Linked DNA regions of Homo sapiens: region 2 is linked to region 1. The links are contacts of gene promoters, found by promoter capture Hi-C in blood cells and fetal thymus (Javierre and others, 2016). All regions are on one chromosome and are shown on one strand. The core of a region is centred on a gene start or on the middle of the fragment in contact, and the rest is flanking DNA. Distances in the headings are between cores, read along the strand shown. Region 1 holds the start of GLS2 (glutaminase 2). Region 2 overlaps BAZ2A (bromodomain adjacent to zinc finger domain 2A).

Region 1 (6,253 bases), core at 1-2,500:
CCTATTGGTGTCCCTTACGACAGAGACTCGAGTAGTGGTGAGGTAGTGTTGTGTCAGAGACTCGAGTAGTGGTGAGGTAGTGTTGTGTCAGTCTGGCTACTTTACTGATGGTGTCCATGTTTCTGAGTGTCATCAGGGAGATGGCAGCGACGAGGGAGATGGCCCATTTCCTGTTCCTGCTACAGTAGAGCAGGGGCTCTTTGGACAGTGTCTATGCTGGCCCTCTGGGGAGGACAAGATTTCCTGCTCAGCACCGTCTGGGTCTCAGAGAAAAAGGCTCAGCCACCAAGTGTGTCCTAGGCGGTGGGGAAGATAAAGGTTTGGCATCCTGGGTGGAAGAAACACCCAAAGGAAGAGAACGTTTTAGATTCTGGAGCCTGGGCAGCACAAATAAAGGCTCTGACTGGCTCTGGTTTGGGAAATCTGCGTCTTAAAGACCTTTCCTCCATTACAAATATTCTCCCCATTCAACAACCAGTTTGGAAATTCCCCCCCATTCTGCTGTTCAGGGAGCACTGCTACGCACACACCCAACACTTATGGACGTACCTGCGCACCAATAATACACGCGCATCACACATTACCTGCCGAGAACACGCAGAAACACAACACACAGACCCCAGTACACCTGGACCGGAGGCAGGAGGCTGTTCCACATCCACGCATCTCCTAAAATACACACGAGGACTAGGGAAGGTGAGGACTGGCGGCGTGAGCCCGGCCCTGCACTCAGACACGTGAGCCAAGCAACACTCGGCGCGCATCTGTGATCCGGGTTAAGTGCGCACCTTGGACAGGCGCCATCCCCAGGACCCGCTTGCCCGAACGCACTCCTAGGCAGACGGCAGATTACCGCCCGAGCGCGGCGCACCCAAAGCCCCACATCCAAAGGAAAAGGCACCGAGGGCTAGTGAGCGAGGAGAGGGGAGATGAGCGGCGCTGCCTTGGAAGGGCACTCGGGAACTAGCGAGAACCACAGTGGGAGTGGGGGCAAGCCCGTCCCCTGCCCTGTCCCAGGAGCCTTACTGATCCTGGTGCTGCGGCTGGTGGCTGTGTGGCGTCTCTCTGCCCTGCGCCGCGGCCTCACTGAGGTGGTGCCGGACGCCCCCGCCAAGGAGGGGGCTCCGGCTCGGGTGACCCCAGCCTCCTCGCCCGCAGTGACTGCCAGCCCGGCTCAGGGCCTTCTGCAGAGCCTTCATGGAGCGCATGCCCCAGCAAGCCTCCGGCTCTGCAGGTGCGCCCGGGACCTCTAGCTGTGGCTGGGAAGGAGGGGCGGAGCGAGCGAGACAAGGTGCGGGGGAGTTCTGTGAGGGAGCGCTGGACCTGGAAGACGGAGAATGTGGGCCCGGTGGGTGGGGCTGGGGCTGGGGCAGGAGAAGGGGCCTGCCCCTTTAAAGCTGGCTCCAGGGTTAGGGGCACCCTCAGGACAGGGGCTAGGTGAGGAGCGTTGGGGATGAAGGAGAACCCGGGTGGCTTTCTAGTGGGTGGAGAGAGGGCGGTGCCTGGGAGCTGGAATGGACAATGCCCAGGTCCAATCACTGAGGAAGCAAAAACATTGAGGCGGGGAAAGGGTAAGGTTGCCCAATGAGAGCAAGACGGTGGGACCTTGCGACAGTCTGCGGATGCTTCCGCGTGGGCCCGGCGAGCGCGGGTATCCGCGGATGCTGAGGGCGGGAAAGGCGAGGACAAGCTGAGGCGAAGCCGGTGGGGGCGGGAGGCGCTCCCCGGGAACACCGTGGGGCTGCGAATGATGGAGTTGTCGTGTAGAGAGGAGGGTGCTGCCTCGAGAGAGGAGGCTAAGTAAGAGTGAGCCCAGTTCAGGAGGTCACTCAGAGAGCCTCGACCTCCGAAGGCCAAACCAGCGCCCAGTAACCCGGCGGGTAGCGTGGCGCGCGGCCGACGTGCGGTGGTGCTGAGTGGAGAGTAGGATGACTGCTGGGTACCCCGGGCAGAAGCAGCCGACCAGCACCTCAGGGAGGCATTGGGCGGCGGGAAGGTCGCTCTGGCGGTTAGGAAGCCTGGGTTCCAGTTTGTGTCCCTCTACCATTTATTTGGTGTAGGACTTGTTTTCAAATCTGGAAAGTTAAGACATTAAAATAAGTTGGCACGCAGAAAAACGTTTTATAAACCATGAAGTGCTCCCCACATTTTTCCTATTTTAATTGTTTGCCCTTGTCCTCCTCACGGGCAGAAAAGAGGCGATATACAAAAAGCATTTTGAAATCCAAGAACATTCAGGACTTTTGCCATTTGCAGCTAGAACTTTCACCTTGTATCTCGGCAGCGCCTAACCCAGCATCCATATTTAGTAGGGACTCATTATGTAAATGATAGCTATTATTGAGTGCCCATGGTGTTCCAACCGCTTAGTTTCTCTCTCCCTCTTACCAGAGACCTACAAAGTAGTTATTAGTCTCAATTTGAAGGTGAGGAAACTAAGACTAGGAAATTAAGAATTCTCGCATAAGGTAACCCAGCTAGTAAGTACCAGAACCAGAAATTAGACCCGTTTTTTTTTTTTAACTACAAGTCTCTCCTTCATGCAGCCCTTCTCAAAAATTAAGCATTGAATTGAATTATCCCGGGAGAAATGACCCCATCCCTAAAGGAGGTATTTTATGTGGAAGTATTATGATACAGTACTGGGAGTCTTTTCCTTGTGATAGTTCTGGCTGTATCACAAAATACTAGTTTTTGTTTGTTTGTTTTTGAGACGAAGTTTTGCTCTTGTTGCCCTAGCTGGAGTGCAATGGCGCAATCTCGACTCACTGCAACCTCCGCCTCCTGGGTTCATGCGATTCTCCTGCCTCAGCCTCCCTAGTAGCTGGGATTACAGGCGCCTGCTACCTCGCCCAGCTAATTTTTTGTATTTAGTAAAGATGTGGTTTCGCCATATCGGTCAGGCTGGTCTCAAACTCCTGACCTCAGATGATCCGCCCGCCTCAGCCTCCCACAAGTGCTGGGATTACAGGCATGAGCCACCGTGCTTGTCCCATAGTTTTCATTTTTGGATTAAAATGAGTTTCAAGGGTACTCGTGGGAAAACAAGTACTGAAACCAGTCAGGTGTGTTCTGTGGAAAGGCAGTTCTCCTTTGCCTTGGTTAGGGTTGGAGGGCTTATTTGGCTTAAAACCAGATGGAGTGACATTTGTTTTTGCTTGTTTTCGCCTTCTGTAGTCATTCTGTGTCTGCTGTATCTGTTCTCCTGTCCGTGGAAAGCCGTCTAATTCTGGGAGGGCTTGCTGCTTTATGCTTGGCTTTGCCCAAGAGGCAGAGTTCTGGGTCTCAATACTTAACGTAAACTCAATCCTGCATTAGTTTTTTTCATACGTAACAGACGAATCTTATCCTTGTTTCATAGAAATATGATTTATCTGAAACGTTTTGATCTATTCAAGAGAAAAATACCATCTGTTAGGGAATTTCTAAACATTACCCAGAAGTAATTTGCTTCCTTTTTTTCCTATTTCTGCCTCTTTGAATTAGCTTTATACTCTAATGAGTTCCTTACTCTCTTTCTCCCAGCACTCTTCCACTAATAGGAACTGGTTGGGTAGTGAAGAAGATCTATGCATGGAAGCAGAGGTTCTTTGCTTAGAGAACTAGCTCCAGCTGCACTTGGACCTTTGGACTAACTGTCTCCAATACAATATTGCTGTCTTTGCATGAGGATGGAGCATGAACTGGTGACTTGGGAGGCCAATGGTACTGTGTAAAGTATAAGATGCTGGAGAAGAACAAGTTTGTTGTCCCAGGTGGTTAAAGCTTGGCAGGGTCAGGTCCTCTTTTTGTTTCTAATTTGAAAAATACTCATCATCTAGTTTAATTTGTGCAAAACTATTAGCCAACTATGACAAGGGCAGCTAGAAATGAAGATTTTCATAACTGAAAGAAAGTTCTTTGTGTCTCTAACAGTGGGCTTTTAGGTTAGTCCATGGCTGTGCCAGAGTTTTGTGGTATGTGAGAGAGGATTAGACTTAATGATTTTGAATCCTTAATAAAAGCTAAATCCGGGCCGGGCGCGGTGGCTCATGCCTGTAATCCCAGCTGCTCAGGAGGCTGAGGCAGGAGAATTGCTTGAATCTGGGAGGCGGAGGTTGCGGTGAGCTGAGATCACGCCATTGCACTCCAGCCCGGGCAACAAGAGCAAAACTCCGTCTCAAACAAAAAAAAAAAAAGAAAAGAAAGAAAGAAGGAAAAGCTAATCCTCTGTGATAGGAAATTGATGTTTGGAGTTTGTTTATTTCTTATGATTTAGAGACTCATTTGTTCTACTCTATTTTGTGTGTGTGTGTGTGTGTGTGTGTGTGTGTGTGTGTGATGGAGTCTCGCTCTGTCGTCCATGCTGGAGTGCAATGGTGTGATCTTGGCTCACTGCAACATCCGCCTCCCGGGTTCAAGCAATTCTCCTGCCTCAGCCTTCCGAATAGCTGGGATTACAGGCACCCGCCAATATGCTCGGCTAATTTTCGTATTTTTAGTAGTGACGGAGTTTCACTATGTTGGCCAGGCTGGTCTCGAACTCCTGACCCCTTGATTTGCCCGCCTCAGCCTCTCAAAGTGCTAGGATTGCAGGTGTGAGCCACCGCACCTGGCCTGTTCTACTCTTTAGACTGTAGCTAGGATGTTAATTGGTCCAAGTAAAAGATTAGTTCATTTTTTTATTAATCTTTGTTAATGATACTATTGTTACAAACTCCTTTCTGCCTTAGTTTCTCCATTTGTAAAAGATAAACTTGTATTTTACTGGGTAAAATGTAAGTACTTGGGGCTCTGACATAATGAGCTTCCATTCACTCAATTAATATTTATTTGTTGGCATTCAGTGTGCCAGGTCCAGTGCTGGAAAATCCAGAAATTTAAAAATTTAATAAACCAGTTTCTACTGGGAGAAATGAGAAAGCTTATGTTTAAAATTCCTAATGAAAAATGCTGTGATGTAGAGACATGCAGAAGAAAGTATAAAGGGGACATCTAACTAAGCTGGGGGTGAAGGGCCACTGGGATAGAAGAGGAATGGTGACTGACAGGAGCTGGTTTTTAAAGCACGAGAGGTGTTTCAGACAGAGGGCTCTACAAGAATAAACATAGCCTGAGAGGAACATTTGAGGGACTCTACCTCTAGTTTGGTTGGAATGAAACGTGGGTATAAGAATGTGGACCAGCCGGGCGTGGTGGCTTATGCCTGTAATCCCAGCACTTTGGGAGACTGAGGTGGGCAGATCACAAGGTCAGGAGTTCGAGACCAGCCTGACCAACACGGTGAAACCCCATCTCTACTGAAAATACAAAAATTAGCCAGGCGTGGTGGCATGCACCTGTAATCTCAGCTACTCAGGAGGCTGAGGCAGGAGAATCAGTTGAACCTGGGAGGCAGAGGTTGCAGTGAGCCAAGATCGCGCCACTGCACTCCAGCCTGGGTGACAGCGAGACTCCATCTCAAAAAAAAAAAAAAAAAAAAAAAAAAGAATGGGGACCAATGAAACTGAGGATGTAGGTATGGGATGCATGTTTTAACTTGATGCTAGACTTTCATGGAGTAAATGAAATTTAATAAAAGTTTAAGCGTGTCTGTGATCTACTCCAGTGTGCTTTCCTAATTCTTCTTTGGTTTAGCAATAACAAAATGAACATTTATAGGACTGAAAAAATATAAATATAAGCCTATTAAAAAACATATCATCACACTGGTCCATTTACGATGCCTAACATGCATTTTCTCTATTTTTCCAAATAATATCTTGTATAATCTGGGTTCTCCAATAGCTATTAAAGTAGATTCTAGCAAGTCTTAATCAACAAAATATACTAAAATAATGTAGATTTTGCTAGAATTCCTAAAAAGGATTTAGAAAAGTCTGTAGGCGAAAGCTAATTTGAAGGAATTTGAAAGCCTTTGCCAACACAGCAAGAAGAAAATACCTTCGGGGTTTGCTTGATAGCATTTTCTTTTTTCTTTTTTCCCTTCTCCAAGTTATTGCTAGAGAAATAGTATTTTAATACTTGTTTTTCTTTGACTTAAAGACTATGAAAGATGTCAGAATCTTGTATTACTCTGTAGTGAACAAATGAGACCCTTCTCTAAAAGACTAGGTTAAATTAACTTTTAACCACATTTACCTAAGTGAAATGCTCCATAAGCCATATTTTATTAAGATTGTATATAATTTGAAATTTTTTACATCACCTACTTTGACCTGTCAGTTTGCAAAAAAACTGTCATTCTAGTTTTCTGATTTTCAGGAAAGTTTTT
Region 2 (6,253 bases), core at 2,338-4,837, 130 kb after region 1:
CACCTACTTACCCTTCTCCTACCTAAGTACTGTGTGAGGGAAGGTACAGAATAAGAAAAGAGAAGGAGAAAATATGCCTCTAGCCTGAGCAATGAACCTATGAAAACAGTCTTTTAAAGCCAGCTTTGTAGATTAAAAAACAAAGCAAGTTAGCGAGAAAAACCAAGATACAAACCTGGAGGAGTCTTCCCTCTGTGTAAGCCCCACTCAGCCCAGGTTACCCTTCTATATTAGATATTAGCCTCTACTGTACCACTTAACATTCTCCATCCTTTTGTTTTTATCCCCAAGGTAAAGTCTCCCTCCCAGGCCCACAAAAGGTTCTCAAAGCCATCTTTTTGACAGAAAAGCATATTTGATAAACACTCTTTGTTTCATTATTAAACTTGAGCTAAACATAATTTCTAATTATCCTATCCATAGCCCTAGATATCTCAAGATAGTAGTTACATTAGTAAAGGGATTTGAAAAGGAGAATACATTTCAGGAAGGTGATCATAATGGCAAACCTCGAATCATCCAGCAATACTTCTACTCTTTATGCTCCCCAAGAACACAGGTCAGAAAAATGTCAGCAGTGGAAAATTGATTAAATATGAGGGTATCCCAAAAAATATTATTCTGTTATGTCTATTATGGTTATTTCCTAATGTTTTAGTTTTGTGGCTTAAATATAAAGAAACGGTCACAGGGAAAATAAAATAGCAAGATACTTATATTTGTAAAGTGCAATGGCTCATTGAGGTATGGCTAAAAAGTTTTTCACCCTTTCTGAATACTACTAAGAATGATAAGAAGCCCTTGATCAGAATGAATTTAACTTTGACAGAGGAAAGGAAAGAAAGCAAGCAGAAGCCAGAATTATTGGTAAACTCTAACATATCAATCGGATTCTTGTGACATCCTAGTGCATACCAACTTGATATGTGAGAAACATAATCTGTCTTGATACAGAAAAAGCAACTCCTTGAATTATGTTACTACATTTTAAAAAAGAGAAGAATTCAGGCCAGGTACGGTGGCTCACCTGAGGTCAGGAGTTCGAGACCAGCCTGACCAACATGGTAATACCCTGTCTCTACTAAAAATACAAAAATTAGCTGGGTGTGGTGGCAGGCACCTGTAATCCCAGCTACTCAGGAGGCTAAGGAAGGAGAATCGCTTGAACCCGCAAGGCAGAGGTTGCAGTGAGCTGAAATTGCGCCATTGCACTCCAGCCTGGGCGACAAGAGTGAAACTCCATCTCAAAAAAAAAAGAATGAATACACTGGTTAAGTACATATATGATGAGGCCTGGCATAGTGGTTCACACCTATAATCCCAATACTTTGGAAGCCAAAGCAGGAGGACTATTTGAGGCTAAGAGTTTAAGACCAAGCTGGATAACATGGCGAGAACCGATCTCTACAAAACATTTTAAAAGTAGCAGGGTGTGAAGGCCAGGCACGGTGGCTCACACCTGAAATCCCAGCACTTTGGGAGGCCGAGGCTGGCGGATCACCTGAGGTCAGGAGTTCAAGACCAGCCTGGCCAACATGGTGAAACCCTACCTCTACTAAAAAATACAAAAATTAGCTGGGCGTGGTGGCAGGCACCTGTAATCCCAGCTGCTCGGGAGGCTGAGGCAGGAGAATTGCTTGGACCTGGGAGACGGAGGTTGCAGTGAGCGGAGATCATGCCATTGCACTCCAGCCTGGGGGACAAGAGCGAGACTTCATCTCAAAAAAAAAAAAAGGAGCAGGGTGTGGTGGGGCACACCTGTGGTCCTAGCTTACTCGAGAGGCTAAGGCAGAAGGATCACTTGAGCCCAGGAGGTCGAGGCTGCAGTGAACCATGATCATGCCACTGCACTCCAGCCTAGGTGACAGAGCATGACCCTGTCTCAAAAAAAAAAAAAAAAAAGAAAAGAAAAGAATATATATGCCCACTGGCCAAAGTCTGCAAGAGTTACATTCATAAATATGCTACATTACTAAAATTAGACACCATTAGTATAAATGTGAATATAACATAAGTCTGAGCATGATATATAAACCCTGCATAGTATGTGGGAATTGTCTGTATCTTAATCAATTTTAACTGAAATTTTAAAAATAAAAATAGGCCAAGCATGGTGGCTCATGCCTGTAATCCTAGTGCTCCAGGAGGCTGAAGCAGGAAGATCACTTGAGGTCAGGAGATCAAGACCAGCTTGGGAAACATAGCAAGGCTCTGTCTCCACAAAAAATAAAAAAGTTAGCTGAGCATGGTGGTTCCTGCCTGTAGTCTCAGTTGCTCAGGAGGATGAGGCAGGAAGATTACTTGAGCCCAAAAGTGCAAGTCCAGCCTATGCACCATAGCAAGACCCCATCTCTAAAAACTAAAAGCAATGTGCATTTGTTGATTTAAGGGAAAAAGTTTTTAGGACTTACTTATCTCCCATATAGGATATCTCATCTTTAGTCTAAATAGGGGTGTCCAATCTTTTGGCTTCCCTGGACCACACTGGAAGAAGTGTCTTGGGCCACACATAAAATACACTAATGAGAGCTGATGAGCTTTAAAAAAAAAAAAAAAATCACAAGAAAATCTCCATGTTATCTTTTAAGAAAGTTTACAAATTGGTATTGGGCCAGATTCAAAGTTGTCCTGGGTGGGCTGGACAAGCTTGCTCTAAATTAAGTAGCAGACCTAAACCTGCCATGCATCAGTGAAAAAATGGAGTCTTTATAGTGAAAAGACCCCAGGTTAGCCAGGCATGATGGTGAGCAGCTGCAGTCCCAGCCACTTGGGAGGCTGAGGCAGGAGGATTGTTTGAGCCTGGGAAGCAGAGATTGCAGTGAGCCAAGATCATGCCACTGCATTCCAGCCTGGGTGACAGAGCGAAACCCTGTCTCAAAAAAACAAAACAAAACAAAACAAACAAACAAACAAAACACACAGGGTCCTCCAGGATTTCCTTTTTTTTTTTTTGAGACAGAGTTTCCCTCTTGTTGCCCATGCTGGGGTGCAAGGGTGTGATCTCGGCTCACTGCAACCTCCACCTCCCAGGTTCAAGCGATTCTCCTGCCTCAGCCTCCCCAGCAGCTGGGATTACAGGCACCCGCCAACACGCCCAGATAATTTTTTATCTTTTTAGTAGAGACGGGGTTACACCATGTTGGCCAGGCTGGTCTTGAATTCCTGACCTCAAGTGATCGACCCACCGCGGCCTCCCAATGTGCTGGGATTACAGCCATGAGCCACTGCGCCCAGTCAGGATTTCCCTAGTATAGTTAACAGCTACTCCTCAGCAGTAGGGGGTCTGAAAGATAAGCATCATGAGATTAATAATCCTTCTTAAGTGCAAGAATTAAAGGAAAGTTCATTCCTTAGTCTCCAGTTAGGTTCCTTCCAAAGCTTATACCACAGAGCAAGGAGGACACTCTTCACTTCAGAAGTCCTGGAAATACTATGCCTAGAGGGCCAATTTCATCTGATCCTCACCTCTCCTCTCCCCAGTTTTTTGTACACCTCCCCTGGTGTGGAGGATACATGCAACTTCCATCCTATGTGCAGTGGACTATATCCTCCTCAATGATGGGTCACGGTTCATTTTTCCATTCTCTATTTGAATCCAAGAACAAAGTTGTGACCTCCTCTCTGCTGCTCTGGAAAAGCACAGCATATCCTGTTTTTGTAAATATTAATAACAACATGTCGATGGCTCACAGAAATCAGAGAATTAAAAAGAATGGGAAGTTATTTAGTATGTGAGATCAGTTTCTCCACCTGTCTCTTCTGAACTGTCATCAGAACCACAACCACTTCATTTACGAGAAGCTTCCTAGACACATAAAATTGTCTTTGTGCTATGCAATGTGGTCAGCACAATGTAGTGGGCTCTAGGTTCAAATCCCAACTCTACTATTTACTAGCTAGCTGTTTAACCTTGGACAAGTTACTTATACTTGCTGGGCCTAAGTTTCATCATCTGTAACAATTTTTGTACCCACTTTTAAGGACTGGTGAGGATGAAATGAGAAAATCTAAATTAGAGCCCCAGCACAGTGTCTGTCATCCAGCAAGCACTCCATAAACGTTAGTTTTTTTTTTTTCTTCTTGAGACAGAGTCTCACTCTGTCATCCAGAGTGGTGTGCAGTGGCATGATCATAGCTCACTGCAGCCTGGAACTCCTGGGCTCCAGTAATCCTCCTGCCTCAGCTTCCCAAGTAGCTAGGACTACAGGTGCTCACCACCACACCTGGCTAATTTTTAAATTTTTTTGTAGACACAGGGTCTCGCTATGTTGCCCATGATGGTCTCAAATTCCTGGCCTCAAGCAATTCTCCCACCTTGACCTCCCAAAGTGCTGGGATTACAGGCGTGAGCCACCTTACCAGGACTACATTAGCTACTATTATTAGACAAACAGTAAAAGACTGTGTAGTTTTCAAAAAGATAATCAGGCCTGGCCAGGCGCAGTGGTTCACGCCTGTAATCCCAGCACTTTGGGAGGCCAAGGTGGGTGGATCACCTGAAGTCAAGAGTTCGAAACCAGCCTGGCCAACATGGCGAAACCCCATCTCTATTAAAATTACAAAAAATTAGCTGGGCGTGGTGGCGGGCACCTGTAATCCCAGCTACTCAGGAGGCTGAGGCAGGAGAATTGCTTGAATCCAGGAGATGGAGGTTGCAGTGAGCTGAGATCGCACCATTGCACTCTAGCCTGGGTGACAGAGCAACACTCTATCTCCAAAAAAAAAAGATAATCAGGTCTAAACGGTCTACATATAAAATAAATATAATTTAAAACTAGGGATGATCCAGCCAGACTTCCTTATATACAATTTGACTCCTGATTTCAGATGTCACTTAAATATGGGAATTAATTATGTCACAGTATGGGAATACGAAAAACATGTGAACACCTCCTCTCAACAATGAACCTAGGTTTATTTCATTTTAACCTTCCTACTCAAGATGCTTTTCACAATAAACCCTAAAGGTAAACTCTGTCCTCCCATCCAGAGCTAGTAAGAACAGTAAAGCAAAGGAGAGCATCTCCCTTTGAACTAATAGGATTTTCACCAAATGAGAAAAGAAATCAGCCAGTGCCCAACCCCTAGAGTAGCAGATGACTCTCATACCAGGAAGTACATTCATTCAAGCACCCAGCCCAGTCCCAGCTATACATAAATGGATCTTTTAAGAGCTCCTATGTTTCATTTATAAGAGTAAGGGACATTGCCCTATAAGCTTGAAGCAATAAAGCCCTCCCCACAGGGCCGAATAGGTTGCTTTTCTCCCAGTTCCAATCAAAGAGCTGCTACTCTGTGGGCCTGTGACATGGTTTAATAGAAAAAGGCTGACAACACCAAGAGCAGTGGCTCGTGTAATCCCAGCACTTTGGGAGGCCGAGGTGAGCGGATCACGAGGTCAAGAGATCGAGACCATCCTGGCTAACACGGTGAAACCCTGTCTCTACTAAAAATAGAAAAAATTAGCCAGGCGTGGTGGCGGGCACCTGTAGTCCTACCTACTCGGGAGGCTGAGGCAGGAGAATGGCGTGAACCCGGGAGGTGGAGGTTGCAGTGAGCCGAGATCGCGTCACTGCACTCCAGTCTGGGCGACAGAGCGAGACTCCATCTCAAAAAAAAAAAAGAAAAAGGCTGACAATGCACAAAGTGTTGAAATAAATATTATATATTGCAACACTGTTACAGGTGTCCTCCCTGACCAATTCTAACCCTCCAGCCTCTGAGGCTACCCCCCAGGACAACAAGACACATTAACACCCTCCAGCTGGATACTGCAGTGGTCCCTGCAGCTCTTGGGTTCATTCTTCTCATGTAGTACATCAAAATCTCACAAATGGGGTTGGGGGGTGAGAGAGATTTCAAATGTTTATCTTGACTAAACAGCAAAGGCAAATTCTAGAGTAAAAATCACACCACTACATTTTAGCTTTGTAATTGTGAACATCATGAAGGATATTTCTTAACTCTACACATCTCTGGATTACCCACCACACTCTAATACAGAGGTTCTCATCAGGGGCAATTCTGCCCCGTAGGGGACATTTAGTAATCTCTGAAGGTATGTGCTACTGGCATCTAGTAAGCAGAAGCCAAAGATGCTGCTAGGCGTCCTTCAACAAACAGGACAGCGCCCCCCACAACGAAGATATTATCTGGCCCACGTTATCAATAGTGCCAAGGCTGAGAAACCCTGTTCTAATGTAAAAGCTGTCCCATTCCTGCCCCACACCTTGGGAAAGTTCCAAGTTTTCAC

What was found. The method cuts DNA at HindIII sites, captures the fragments that hold promoters and counts their contacts. A CHiCAGO score of 5 or more calls a contact.
Region 2: a contact is called between a fragment that was not itself captured here and the fragment with the promoter of GLS2 in region 1, in 1 of 17 cell types (M1 macrophages). The highest score is 5.4, in M1 macrophages.

What each region holds. Positions count from the first base shown.
Region 1 is chr12:56,486,911-56,493,163 of GRCh38, forward strand. It overlaps GLS2 (glutaminase 2), which reads right to left and starts at 1,251. Exons shown (of 18, transcript NM_013267.4): 1 at 1,027-1,251. The coding sequence starts at 1,208. LOC124902944 (a long non-coding RNA gene) reads left to right here. Exons shown (of 2, transcript XR_007063331.1): 1 at 1-42; 2 at 77-422. RefSeq lists an enhancer at 788-1,007 and a silencer at 1,168-1,597. The HindIII fragment of the contact is 16,217 bases long and covers 1-3,763 here.
Region 2 is chr12:56,617,625-56,623,877 of GRCh38, forward strand. The region is part of intron 1 of BAZ2A (bromodomain adjacent to zinc finger domain 2A); the gene reads right to left. Among named protein-coding and RNA genes, the nearest start is that of BAZ2A, 9.6 kb to the right of the region's middle. The HindIII fragment of the contact is 423 bases long and covers 3,377-3,799 here.